3 separate regions of the Homo sapiens genome follow, and regions 1 and 3 are each linked to region 2. The links are contacts of gene promoters, found by promoter capture Hi-C in human tissues and cell types (Jung and others, 2019). All regions are on one chromosome and are shown on one strand. Each heading gives the region's core, a stretch centred on a gene start or on the middle of the fragment in contact. The rest is flanking DNA. Distances are from core to core; before and after follow the strand shown. Region 1 overlaps LOXL1-AS1 (LOXL1 antisense RNA 1). Region 2 holds the start of TBC1D21 (TBC1 domain family member 21). Region 3 has its middle 37 kb from the start of TBC1D21.

Region 1 (3,527 bases), core at 111-2,610, 44 kb after region 2:
AGGTAAGGATCATTGGGAGCCATTTCAGAAGCTGCCTGCCACAGATGTCATTGCTTTATTTTATGAAAATAAGCACCAAACACACTACATTCATCTATAAAATAAAGCTTCCCTAAAGACCTATAATAAAAAAGACCTTAATAATAGAAAGATATGCCACGTTCCCGGACAGAAGCACTCAATGGTGCAAAGAAGTTGATTATCACTAAATTAATCTACAAAACTAATCCAATTGCAATGTCCAGTGGGATTTGTCTGCTAGTTTATCTCGGCAGAAAAAAAAAGTTTAGAATTTATCTTAAAGAATATATGAATTGCCACAAAGAACACCTCAAAAGAAAAAAATGGGCCAGGCGTGGTGAGTCACGCCTGTAATCCCAGCACTTTGGGAGGTCGAGGCAGGTGAATCACTTGAAGCCAGGAGTTCAAGACCAGCCTGGTCAACATGGTGAAACCCTGTCTCTACTAAAAATACAAGAATTAGCTGGGTGTGGTGGCATGCATCTGTAGTCCCAGCTACTCGGGAGGTTGAGGTGGGAGAATCACTTGAACCAGGGAGGCAGAGGTTGCAATGAGCCGAGATAGTGCTACTATACTCCAGCCTGGGTGACAGAGTGAAACCCTGTCTCAAAAAAATAATAAAAATAATAAAACAAAACAATGGGACTTGTATTCTCAGTCATTAACCCTTATTAAAAAGTTACAATCATTAAAATAGGGCAACAAATACCAATGTAAGAACGATGTGATAGGCCAACGGAACAGAACGGTAAACCCAGTCAAACACACAAAAATATTTAGTGTATGATAAAATGGCCTTTCAGATCATTGGAAAATGATTAATTTATTTATAATTCATTTGGGGATAGTTGGTTAATTTGCTTTAAAGTTATGTTCTTACCTCTCACCACACATGAAGACAAAATGAAGAGTTTAATATAAAAAGTGAAATCATAAAATCTCAGAAGAACATTTAATTGAAAATTTATATGTTCCTGGTGAAGGCAGCGGTTATGCAACAATAAAGTCCAAGACCATAAAGAAAAGATTAATAATCTGACAGCTTAAAAATGAAGCATCAAGAAAGTATTTTAAAAATTGATGGAAATGACAAATTAGTTGCATAATATGTGACAAAGAGTGATATATGAAAAGGTGCTAAATATACATCTTATAAACCAATACTAAAAAGATGAACATTACAATAGAAAATAGTCAAAGAATATGAACAGAAAATTTACCATTCATTCACTCAACAAATATTTATCGAGCACCTCTTCTGTGCCAGACAAGTTTACACATGGGACACAGCAGTGAACAAGACAAAGGACAAAGGTCCCTGCCCCAAGGAGCTTACATTCTATTGGAGAGGGGCAAACAATAAACAAGTAAATTATGAAGTATTTTAGACGGTGATAAGTACTACTGGCAAAAAAGAAAAAGAAGGGTTAAGTAAGGCGATCAGGAGTGAGGCATGGGGAGCTCAGGGGCTGGGGAGGTCTCATCAGGAAGGAGACATTTGAGCAAAGCTTTGAACAGATTCAGGTAGTTGACCACACAGAGCAGGGGAAATTGCCATGGTGCGGCGGAGGGGCAGGAGAAGGCCAAGTTGGCTAGAACAGAAAGAGCAAGGGACCAAGTGGTGAGGACCCTGGAGGCCTTGAACAGGACTTTGGCTTTTAACCTGAGAACCATTGCAGAGCTTTAAGGAGAAGAGTGAAATTTTGACTTATGTCTCAAAAAGGATCATTCTGGCTACCATCTTGAGAGCAGACTTTTGGGGTACAAAGGTAGGAGCAAATAGACCATTTAGGAGGTCAGCAAACACATGGCAACATGTTCACTCTCACGGGTAACCAAAAAAATGCAACTAAAAAAATGTATTCACCTGTTTTTAACCTATCCAATTTTTAATGTTCTTTTAGAAAACAGTACTCAGTATCAGTAAGGGTGAATTACCTTCGGGCAGGTAAATGGGAACCACCTTTCTGGGACCAGCTGGGTATTCTGTGCCAAAGCCTCAAAAACACTCAAACCCTTTCACCAGAAATCCAACTTCTAATAAATTAATCTAAAGGTCTAATAATCGCCAGTACTTATTGAGTGCTTGTATGCACCAGGCTCTGAACTAAACGCGCTCCATATTACCCCCATTTAAATTCTTACCATTATTCCTGTCTTACAGAAAGAAAAAAGGCATGGTGAGTCACACAGTTCACAAATGAGGGCTAGAACCAAACCCAGGCACTGTGACCTGCTACACAGGAGAGGCAGATATGAAGATTTCTTCAAGGGTGCTTATTACAGCATCATTTATAATAGCAAATAAAGTACCCAAAAAAATCAACAAAGGAGGTGATTCATTCAGTTATGATTTGTCCACATAAGTCAGTCATTAAAAATCTGGTTAAAGAAAACTCGTTTCCGATCCAGCCAGGTGCTGAGACAGGCAGAACTTTCCAGAGCTTCTCCTTGGAAGCTGCCAGCTGCTGTGATGTCCTATTTCTTGATCCAGGTGGTAATCCAGAGGTGTGCTCACGTTGGGATCATTCATCAAGTGGTACACCTAGGATTTGTGGACTTTTGTGTGTGTGTATGCTATACTCATGTTTTTAAAAGTTATTTTTGGCCGGGCACGGTGGCTCACGCCTGTAAGCCCAGCACTTTGGGAGGCCGAGGTGGGCAGATCATGAGGTCAGGAGATCAAGACCATCCTGGCTAACATGGTGAAATCCTGTCTCACCTAAAAAAATACAAAAAAATTAGCCGTGCGTGATGGCAGGTGCCTGTAGTCCCAGCTACTTGGGAGGCTGAGGCAGGAGAATGGCATGAACCTGGGAGGCGGAGCTTGCAGTGAGCCGAGATCGCACCACTGCACTCCAGCCTGGGAGACAGAGCGAGACTCCGTCTCAAAAAAAAAAAAAAGTTATTTTAAAAAATTTAAGTTGCCAGGTGTTTCTCCTCCTACAGGGACACAAGAAGGCTGTGGAGCAGGATTCTTGGGCCAGGGATGAGGCCCTAGTTATGTAGACCCAAGGCTGGTAGCCACCACTTGCTCCACGTGGAAATGGCTCTCAAGATTCTGTGGTCTGAGAAAGCCTGGTCCTTCCCATACTGCAGGAAGGAAATGCTATGCAGGAAGCGGCTGGCCTCCTGGGCAGATAGAAATGAAGGTACTCCCCGACCCCACACCCTACCTTCCCATTCCAACCAGTGGGTTGACATTTCCACCTCTAAGTGAAACTGGCAATCTGACTGCAGGCCCAGGATCCAGGTCCAGTCCTGAGGGAGACAAGGTCCTAACAGGGGAGGGACCCACCGCTCCGGAACAGAGAGGGTATCTTGCGGAGTGGGGGACAAAGTCTTGACCTCCTCTTCATCCAGGCAGGCAGGAGCTCCTGTGATCAATATGAATATTGAAACGGCAGTTACCTTGAGACAAGGAAATGTTCATCAACTGTTATTACACAAACAAAGCAGCTTGTAAAATGACATAGGCACTATGATCCTAATTGTTTTTTTAAATG
Region 2 (3,462 bases), core at 158-2,657:
TGTCTCTTGCTCTAAACATTTGCTTTGGAAACTTCTTGCAGACCTTAGAATGAAGCCACCCTAATGTGCAAGGGGCCCCATCCTTACTCCACACCTTCCCTACTCAACGTTGCCCACCTCCCACTCCATGAAGACCTAGGGGCAGTAGATCAAAGGGAAGAGGCTCTTAACTCTCTCCTAGGTTGAGCTAGGGTAGTGGGTAGAGGAGAGAGGCCGATAATAAGGCATTTTGATTTAAAAGGCCTTCTGCAGTGCCGCAGGCAAGCAGAACAGAAACAGTAAATGAGACAATGAATTGTGTCCGTGGAAGACTCCATATGGACAGTGATTCATTATGTTAATAAGGAGGTGAAAGCCAGAGGTTGACTGTATTCTGATTTCATGTCTGGGGAATCTGTAGCTCAGAAGCGGGGAGCATCCAAATTTGAGGTCAGAGTCCAAATTCCAACACCCAGCTCCTGATTCCAATTTGGTTGGTCGAATTACTATCATCTCCTAATGACTAAGGATGCTTTAGAGCCAGATGGGACCTGAGTAGAAGTGCAAGCAATGCTTAAGGTGGAGAAGAGTGATGCTGGAGCCAAGCAGAGCCAACTCCTTGGGTCCATGCAACAAATATTGAGCACCTACCAAGTGCCAAGTGATGGCAGAACTGGCATTGGGAGAGGGAACCACAGAGGAATCTGATGTTGACCCTGGCCTAAAGGAACTCAGGGTAGGAGGTGATATGGGGCAGGCACAAATCTCTGTCATACATACAGAGAGGGAAGTGAGATGAGGTCTAAGACAGCTTCATTTATTCTCCCATTCAATTAAATCATTAACTCAGCTACTCAGGCACGATCGTAAGTGCTCCAAATAAAAAGCTAAACAAAACTGATCTCCACCCCAGAAGCTACCATTCCAATGCTGAAGCTAAGTCACCCCAGGAGGCATATCAAAACACATTCCCCAGCCCCCCAGGCCCCAGCACTGACATACTGATTCTGAATCTTTATAACTGGTACCCAAGACATCTGAAGCCTGGTTTCTAGTTATTCTCCAACTTTGGGCACTGGTCTGGTGGAATAGGGAGGGAGTCCAGCTAAGAGAGTCCAGAGGAAGAGTCAGAGATAGAGAGCAAGGCTTCATGGCCCACCTCTCCCTGGAAGCCCTCCTTGACCAGCACAGCCCACACTGATCCCCATGTCCTCTGAATCCAACCTCCACTGCGTGTTCTGCAGTTTTGCATTTTTCTGTTTGTTGTTGTTTTTTGTTTTTCTTTCTTTCTTTTCTTTTCTTTCCTTTTTTTTTTTTTTTCCAAAACTAGCAGGTTTAATCCCTCTTCTCCTGCTTGTGTCTCATCTCTAAAGGTGGGTGTTCCCGTGTTCCAGGTCATTGTGATGAGAGTTCCAGGGGACTTGTGACACACTGCTGGCCGGCTCTGTTCAAGTGTGGGAGGTCAGGAGCAGCCAGTTCCTCCTGGGAATGCAACCCATCTCCGAAAAGGATTAAGCATCACTAGGGCTCCAAGTGAGTTCTGATCAGAGGCTGTTCGGAAGACAGCAGGGGCCATGACCACCCTCTCTCCTGAAAACAGCCTCTCTGCCAGACAGTCAGCCTCCTTCATCCTGGTGCGTGTTCTTTGTCAGCTCTGAGTGCCTCCCTCCCCAGCCTCTGGTTGGCACTGGGACCATTTTCCCCTGCTGGGTAGGAAAAGCTAGAACCCTGAGCTAACATAGAAGGTGGAGCAAGGGCGGTTGTACCTTACTCTTACCATCAGCCCAAGGACAGGACTGAGACATCCAAGCCCCCTTTCACCTTCTTTCCAAGCCAGCAAAACCTTCTCCACATATGTGCTATTCTAACTTTATTGAGTTGTAGGTTTGCAGGTGCGAACCTGAAGATGCTGATAGATTTTCATCGGTGCTTTTTGCCAACAATTTTGGTATACTGCCACCAGGTGGCAGTAATGCTTTTGTTAGTAGGTAGTTCTAAACCCAGTTTACAAGATACAGCTATTTGTTAGAAGTCGGCTTCAGTCATAAAAATTTTCCACACGGTATTTTTTCAAAATCATAACTAATTACAATAACTTTAGCCAATCTTAAGTCTCATTAATCATAGTGATTAAGAGAGTGATACATAAAAATGCAAAATGGACACTCCTCTCCCTGAGTTTTAAATGTTACTGCTTTATGGCAAATTATCACCAGGCCTTGCTTTAAATTTTCTTTATATCTTTCTCATTTCTCTGAGCTTAGAGAAGGCTAATAAAATAAACTGTCACATAGCATTTATTATGTACGATGAATGTTCTAAATGCTTTATTTATAGTCATTCATTCTCATCACAACTCTATGAAGTGAATAATGCTGTTGTCTTCCTTTTATAAATGAGAACATGGAGCCACAGAGACTTTGTCACTTGCCTACAGTCACACAGCTTGTTAAGTGGCAGAAGTTGTATTTCGACCCAGACAGGTGGGGTGCAAAACTCAGTATTCTCAAAGTGTGGCATCCAAACCTGCAGCATTAGCACCAACTGGGAACTTGTAAGAATGCAGACTCTTGGGCCCCAGATCTTCTGAACCAATAAACTGGAGACGAAGCCCAGAGATCTGTGTTTTTTGTAACTCATCCCTCCAGGGCACTGTGATGCACAATTAGCTTTGTGAACCACTGTTTTAAACCATTTTCTTCATCACGGTGCTGTACTGATGATACACCCTCCACACCTGGGTTGGTAATAATTGCTGAAGTGGGAACCCCTTGTTACGGTTGGGAGTCTATCTTGTCCTCAGGTGAACTGGAGTAGAAAAGAGAACCTGTCCAGGTGCAGTGGCTCACGCCTGTAATCCCAGCACTTTGGGAGGCCGAAGCGGGCAGATCACCTGAGGTCGCGAGTTCAAGACCAGCCTGGCCAATATGGCAAAACCCTGTCTCTACTAAAAAATACAAAAAATTAGCCAGGCGTGGTAGTGAGTCCCTGTAATCCCAGCTACTTAAGAGACTGAGGCAGGAGAATCACTTGAACCAGGGAGGTGGAGGTTGCAGTGAGCTGAGATTGCGCCACTGCACTCCAGCCTGGGCGACAGAGTGAGACTCCATCAAAAAAAAAAAAAAAGAAGAAGAAGAAGAAGAAAGAAGGAAGGAAGGAGGGAAGGAGGGAAGAAGGGAAGGAAGGAAGGGAGGGAGGGAGGGAGGGAGGGAAGCTTAAGCAAAGTCAATGACCTTCCCTGGGCTTTATTGGAGGTTCTGTGGCTATGAGTATTCAGAGAAACTTGGCATTAAAACCCTCATAAAAAGTTTTTCTTGTCCTCCAAAGGCTTTCTTTTTTTACTGAAAATATGGGAGAAAACCCCTAACCCAATGATGCAGTGGGGAGAGGAGATTTATGCCTGAAGCCAAGGCCTCTAGCAGCAGGAAACTTTTAGAGGGACTGAGCCACTTAGGGCTCCCACTTCTGGTCCCCTTCCCCAGG
Region 3 (3,406 bases), core at 848-3,347, 36 kb before region 2:
GAATTTCAGAGAAACAACAAATCATTTTGTAGTATAACCATGTCAGAAATATTGCATGGGACATACTTAAACTAAAATTGTCTGTTGTTCTTCTGAAATTCACATTTAAGTGGGTGTGCTGTGTTTTTATTTGCTAAGTGTGTGGTACCCTACTGGGGAAGGAAGGAGGGGATAAAAAGAATAAGAAATGTTTCTTGCCCTCAGAACAATCTCACAGTCTGGTTGGACATCACAGAGCTCAAATGATTCCAACCCATGTAGTCAGTGGTCTGGTAGCAGCGTTTCTCAACACGATGCGCACAGGTGGCACCTGGGGATCTTGTGAAACTGCATACTCTGATTCCGCAGGTCTGGGGTGGAGCCTGAGAGTCTGCATTTCCTACAAGTACCCAGGTGGGGTTGACGATGCTAGTCCCTGACCACACTCTGAATAGGGACAGTGTAGCAAGGAGCAAAGAGGCTGTGGGGGCTTAGAGGAGTTGCTCAGCCCACCTTTGGGGGTCAGGGAAAAGCTTCTTGGAGAAGGTGATAGGTAACTGGTGGGTCTTGGCTGGTAAACACTTGGGGAGGGAGGTGGAGAAAGTGTCCCAGGAGGAGGAAGCACGATTTTTGGAGTCTCAGAGGTGTGAGAAACTACTGCAAATCTGGGAAGGGTGTGGGTGAGTGTGGATGGAGGCTAGATTTGGGGTTGCAAGCAGTGCTGGAGTCTGGGCATCAGAAATTCATCAGACAGATGGGGTCCTTGTCATCACAGACCCCACCAAGCCCATCAAGTGGCAGAGCCAGGGCCATGGATAGACCAGCACCATCCAGTGTGGCCGGGGATGAATTGGAACCAATCACTGGAGTGGGGGAGCCCAGGGAGGGAGCCATGTACTCTGCCTGGGAGTTGGAGAAGGTGTCCTCCTGCGCAGCAGGGTATTTGGGGACAGGGTCTTGGAGGTGAAAGGGACTTTTTTTTTTTTCAAGGGCTGAGAGGAAGAGAGGTGAATGTCTTACAAGAGGGGCCAAAATGGAGATGAAAAAGTTTGCTATGTTTCGGAAGAGTGGCTTCCTTGAGGACAGCAACCATGTCGAGTCCTTCTTCTCTGGATTCCCGGTGCTCAGCATGAGGCTTTGTCAGCATGGGGCAGAAGGCTAGATCAGCTGGCAAGGTAGCCCAGAGCCTCTACTCCAAGCCCTCGTTCATTTTGCTTTATCTCTCCACACCATGGTCAGAACATCAGTGGCGGAGGAACTTGTCATACTGGCAGACTTGGATTCACGGCTGGGGTTCTGGAATCTGTAGTAGTTAAACGGTCTTGGAGTACTTCAGAGTTAGCAGAGCTGGGGTAGTCACTCTCATAAGGCTTGTTCTCATCTTCTTAGGGTTTATCACAGCACGCAGGACAGATTGCTAGTGTTCTTCTGCGTCCGTTCTCTCCCTCTTCCTTGGCTAAATAGATTGCCTGCATTATAGATGGGTACGTGGCATCTCAGAACAAAATCTACATTTCCTAGCTTCCCTCGGTGTGGTCATGGAACCAGGTTCTGGCCAGTAGGGTGTGGTAGGTGTCACTTGAGAATCAGTCTGGGTGTAGCACAGGAAGAAAATACTATTCTAGGTATTCCAGACAGAAAGAGATTTAATAGAGGGATCTGGTTGCTTACAAATTCCTTGGCAGGACTGGAAGCATGAAGGTTGTGGGATGTTGTTAGCGTTTCCAGTCACATCACAGGAGCTACAAACCAGAGGTCAGGAAGCTCCGGGAAACTGCTGCCAATGTCATAGCCACCCCCAGCTGCAATGAGGCCAGACAGTGGACTGGAGGATCCCAGGGGCCAGAGGCTGCAGGCCAGGTGCTTCTGCCGCCTAAGGCAGAACAGCTTCAGCCATCTTTCTCCCTTGCAAATAGCATGTGAGTAAAGCTCATTGGCTGGAACTAGTGACATCCAGAATCCTGGTGGCAGGAGTCTGACAAACACAGTACTGAGGCTTCCAGGCTCTGTAATACAGTGAAAGCATAGCAGGCGGGGAGGGGGAGCAGGCTGAATGCTACCTGGTGATATTCACTATCACTCCTTCTTGCCAGCGGGGGTAGGATGCAGTGGCAAGGACAACTTCCTAGGATGGCAGAGAATCATGGTAGCAGTCACAGAAATGCCACCCAGGCTGGACCTTTGCATAGATAAGAAATAAACTTCTACCTTGTTGAAGTCACCGAGCAGCTGAGCCCATGTCCTGTCACACCGCTATTAAGTGTAAAATGAGGTCTGAGAAGTGTTAATACTCTAGCGTGCATCGTGTTGATGTTACTGTAGTTTCAATTGAACCTGCCCATCAGGAGTGCAGCAATAAAAACTCATTGGCAGACAAAGCAATATTCAGGGCTGTGTGTAGCTGTTGCCAAATGAGAGCCATTGAGTCTATGCTGAGGGAAGCTGGAGAGAGCTCAGAGGATACAGGGGTGTTGGAAGCCTTCCTGGAGGAGGCATTGCTGGAGATGGAGAGGAGAAAAGCTCTCCAGTGGAGGCCATTTTTCTCTTCTCTCTCCAGAGCTGTATCAGCCAGGGAGCTGCCCCACCCTGCCTCCAACCTTGGCCTCTCCTGGTCAAGGCTGTGAAAGGCCAGGAGGAGGGTGGCAGGGTGCCTGCGGTTAACCCCGGGAGCAGACTCTTAAGCTGGGGCAGGATAGAGACCAGAAGGATGGCCTGGGAGATGGGGAGGAAAGGAGAGGTTCAGCATTGCTCCAGAGGGAGAGGCCCGTGACTCTGAGACAGTTCTCAGCTGTATCTACAAGACTCTGAGGACAAAGATGGGGACAGACACATTCAAGGAATGGCCTCAAGGTCATGAAGTGGTGCCTGATTCTGCCTTGCCCCCTGTCTCGTCTGCCTTGCAGCTCCTCCCCAGGAAGAAACACTATTCACCCTTCATACAGGGGGCCTCAAGTAGGCCTGTGACCTGGGGAACAAGGGCCGTCCTATGAACCCATGACAGGCACAGGGCTAGGGATGCACCCAACCAGCTATTCTCTCTTCACCCATTTCTGTGAGAAGTAAGTGATTAGGATGTGGGGATAGACCCAAACTGGCCAGGGTCAGGGCCGAGTTTCAATTTATGACCAAGGTTTAGACTGTTCAGGATGAGAGAGTGGTCCAGGGAAGGATCAGAGATTAGACAGCCACAGGGACCAACCTGTGGCCACAGCTTTGTCTGTGCCAGAACCATGGTTCAGTCTAGTACCGGAGTCTGTTTTTTTTTTTTTTTTTTTTGAGACAGTATTTCACTTTGTCACCCAGGCTGGAGTACAGTAGCATGATCATGACTCACTGCAGCCTCCACTTCCCAAGGTGCAAGCAATCCTCCCTCCTCAGCCTCCTGAGTAGCTGGGACCACAGGCATGTGCCACCATGCCCAGCTGAT

Evidence for each region. The method cuts DNA at HindIII sites, captures the fragments that hold promoters and counts their contacts. A contact is called where the count stands out against the background at its distance.
Region 1: a contact is called between a fragment that was not itself captured here and the fragment with the promoter of TBC1D21 in region 2, in 2 of the 25 tissues and cell types used here (H1 embryonic stem cells and spleen).
Region 3: a fragment that was not itself captured here is called in contact with the fragment with the promoter of TBC1D21 in region 2 in 1 of the 25 tissues and cell types used here (psoas muscle).

What each region holds. Positions count from the first base shown.
Region 1 is chr15:73,916,641-73,920,167 of GRCh38, forward strand. It overlaps LOXL1-AS1 (LOXL1 antisense RNA 1), which reads right to left. Exons shown (of 3, transcript NR_040069.1): 2 at 3,320-3,398; 3 at 828-2,743. Among named protein-coding and RNA genes, the nearest start is that of LOXL1, 8.1 kb to the right of the region's middle. The HindIII fragment of the contact is 5,743 bases long and covers 1-3,527 here.
Region 2 is chr15:73,872,157-73,875,618 of GRCh38, forward strand. It overlaps TBC1D21 (TBC1 domain family member 21), which reads left to right and starts at 1,408. Exons shown (of 11, transcript NM_153356.3): 1 at 1,408-1,613. The coding sequence starts at 1,554. It overlaps LOC102723657 (a long non-coding RNA gene), which reads right to left and starts at 1,379. Exons shown (of 6, transcript XR_932455.3): 1 at 1,139-1,379. The HindIII fragment of the contact is 7,159 bases long and covers 1-3,462 here.
Region 3 is chr15:73,835,096-73,838,501 of GRCh38, forward strand. No RefSeq gene overlaps it. Among named protein-coding and RNA genes, the nearest start is that of TBC1D21, 37 kb to the right of the region's middle. The HindIII fragment of the contact is 6,547 bases long and covers 1-3,406 here.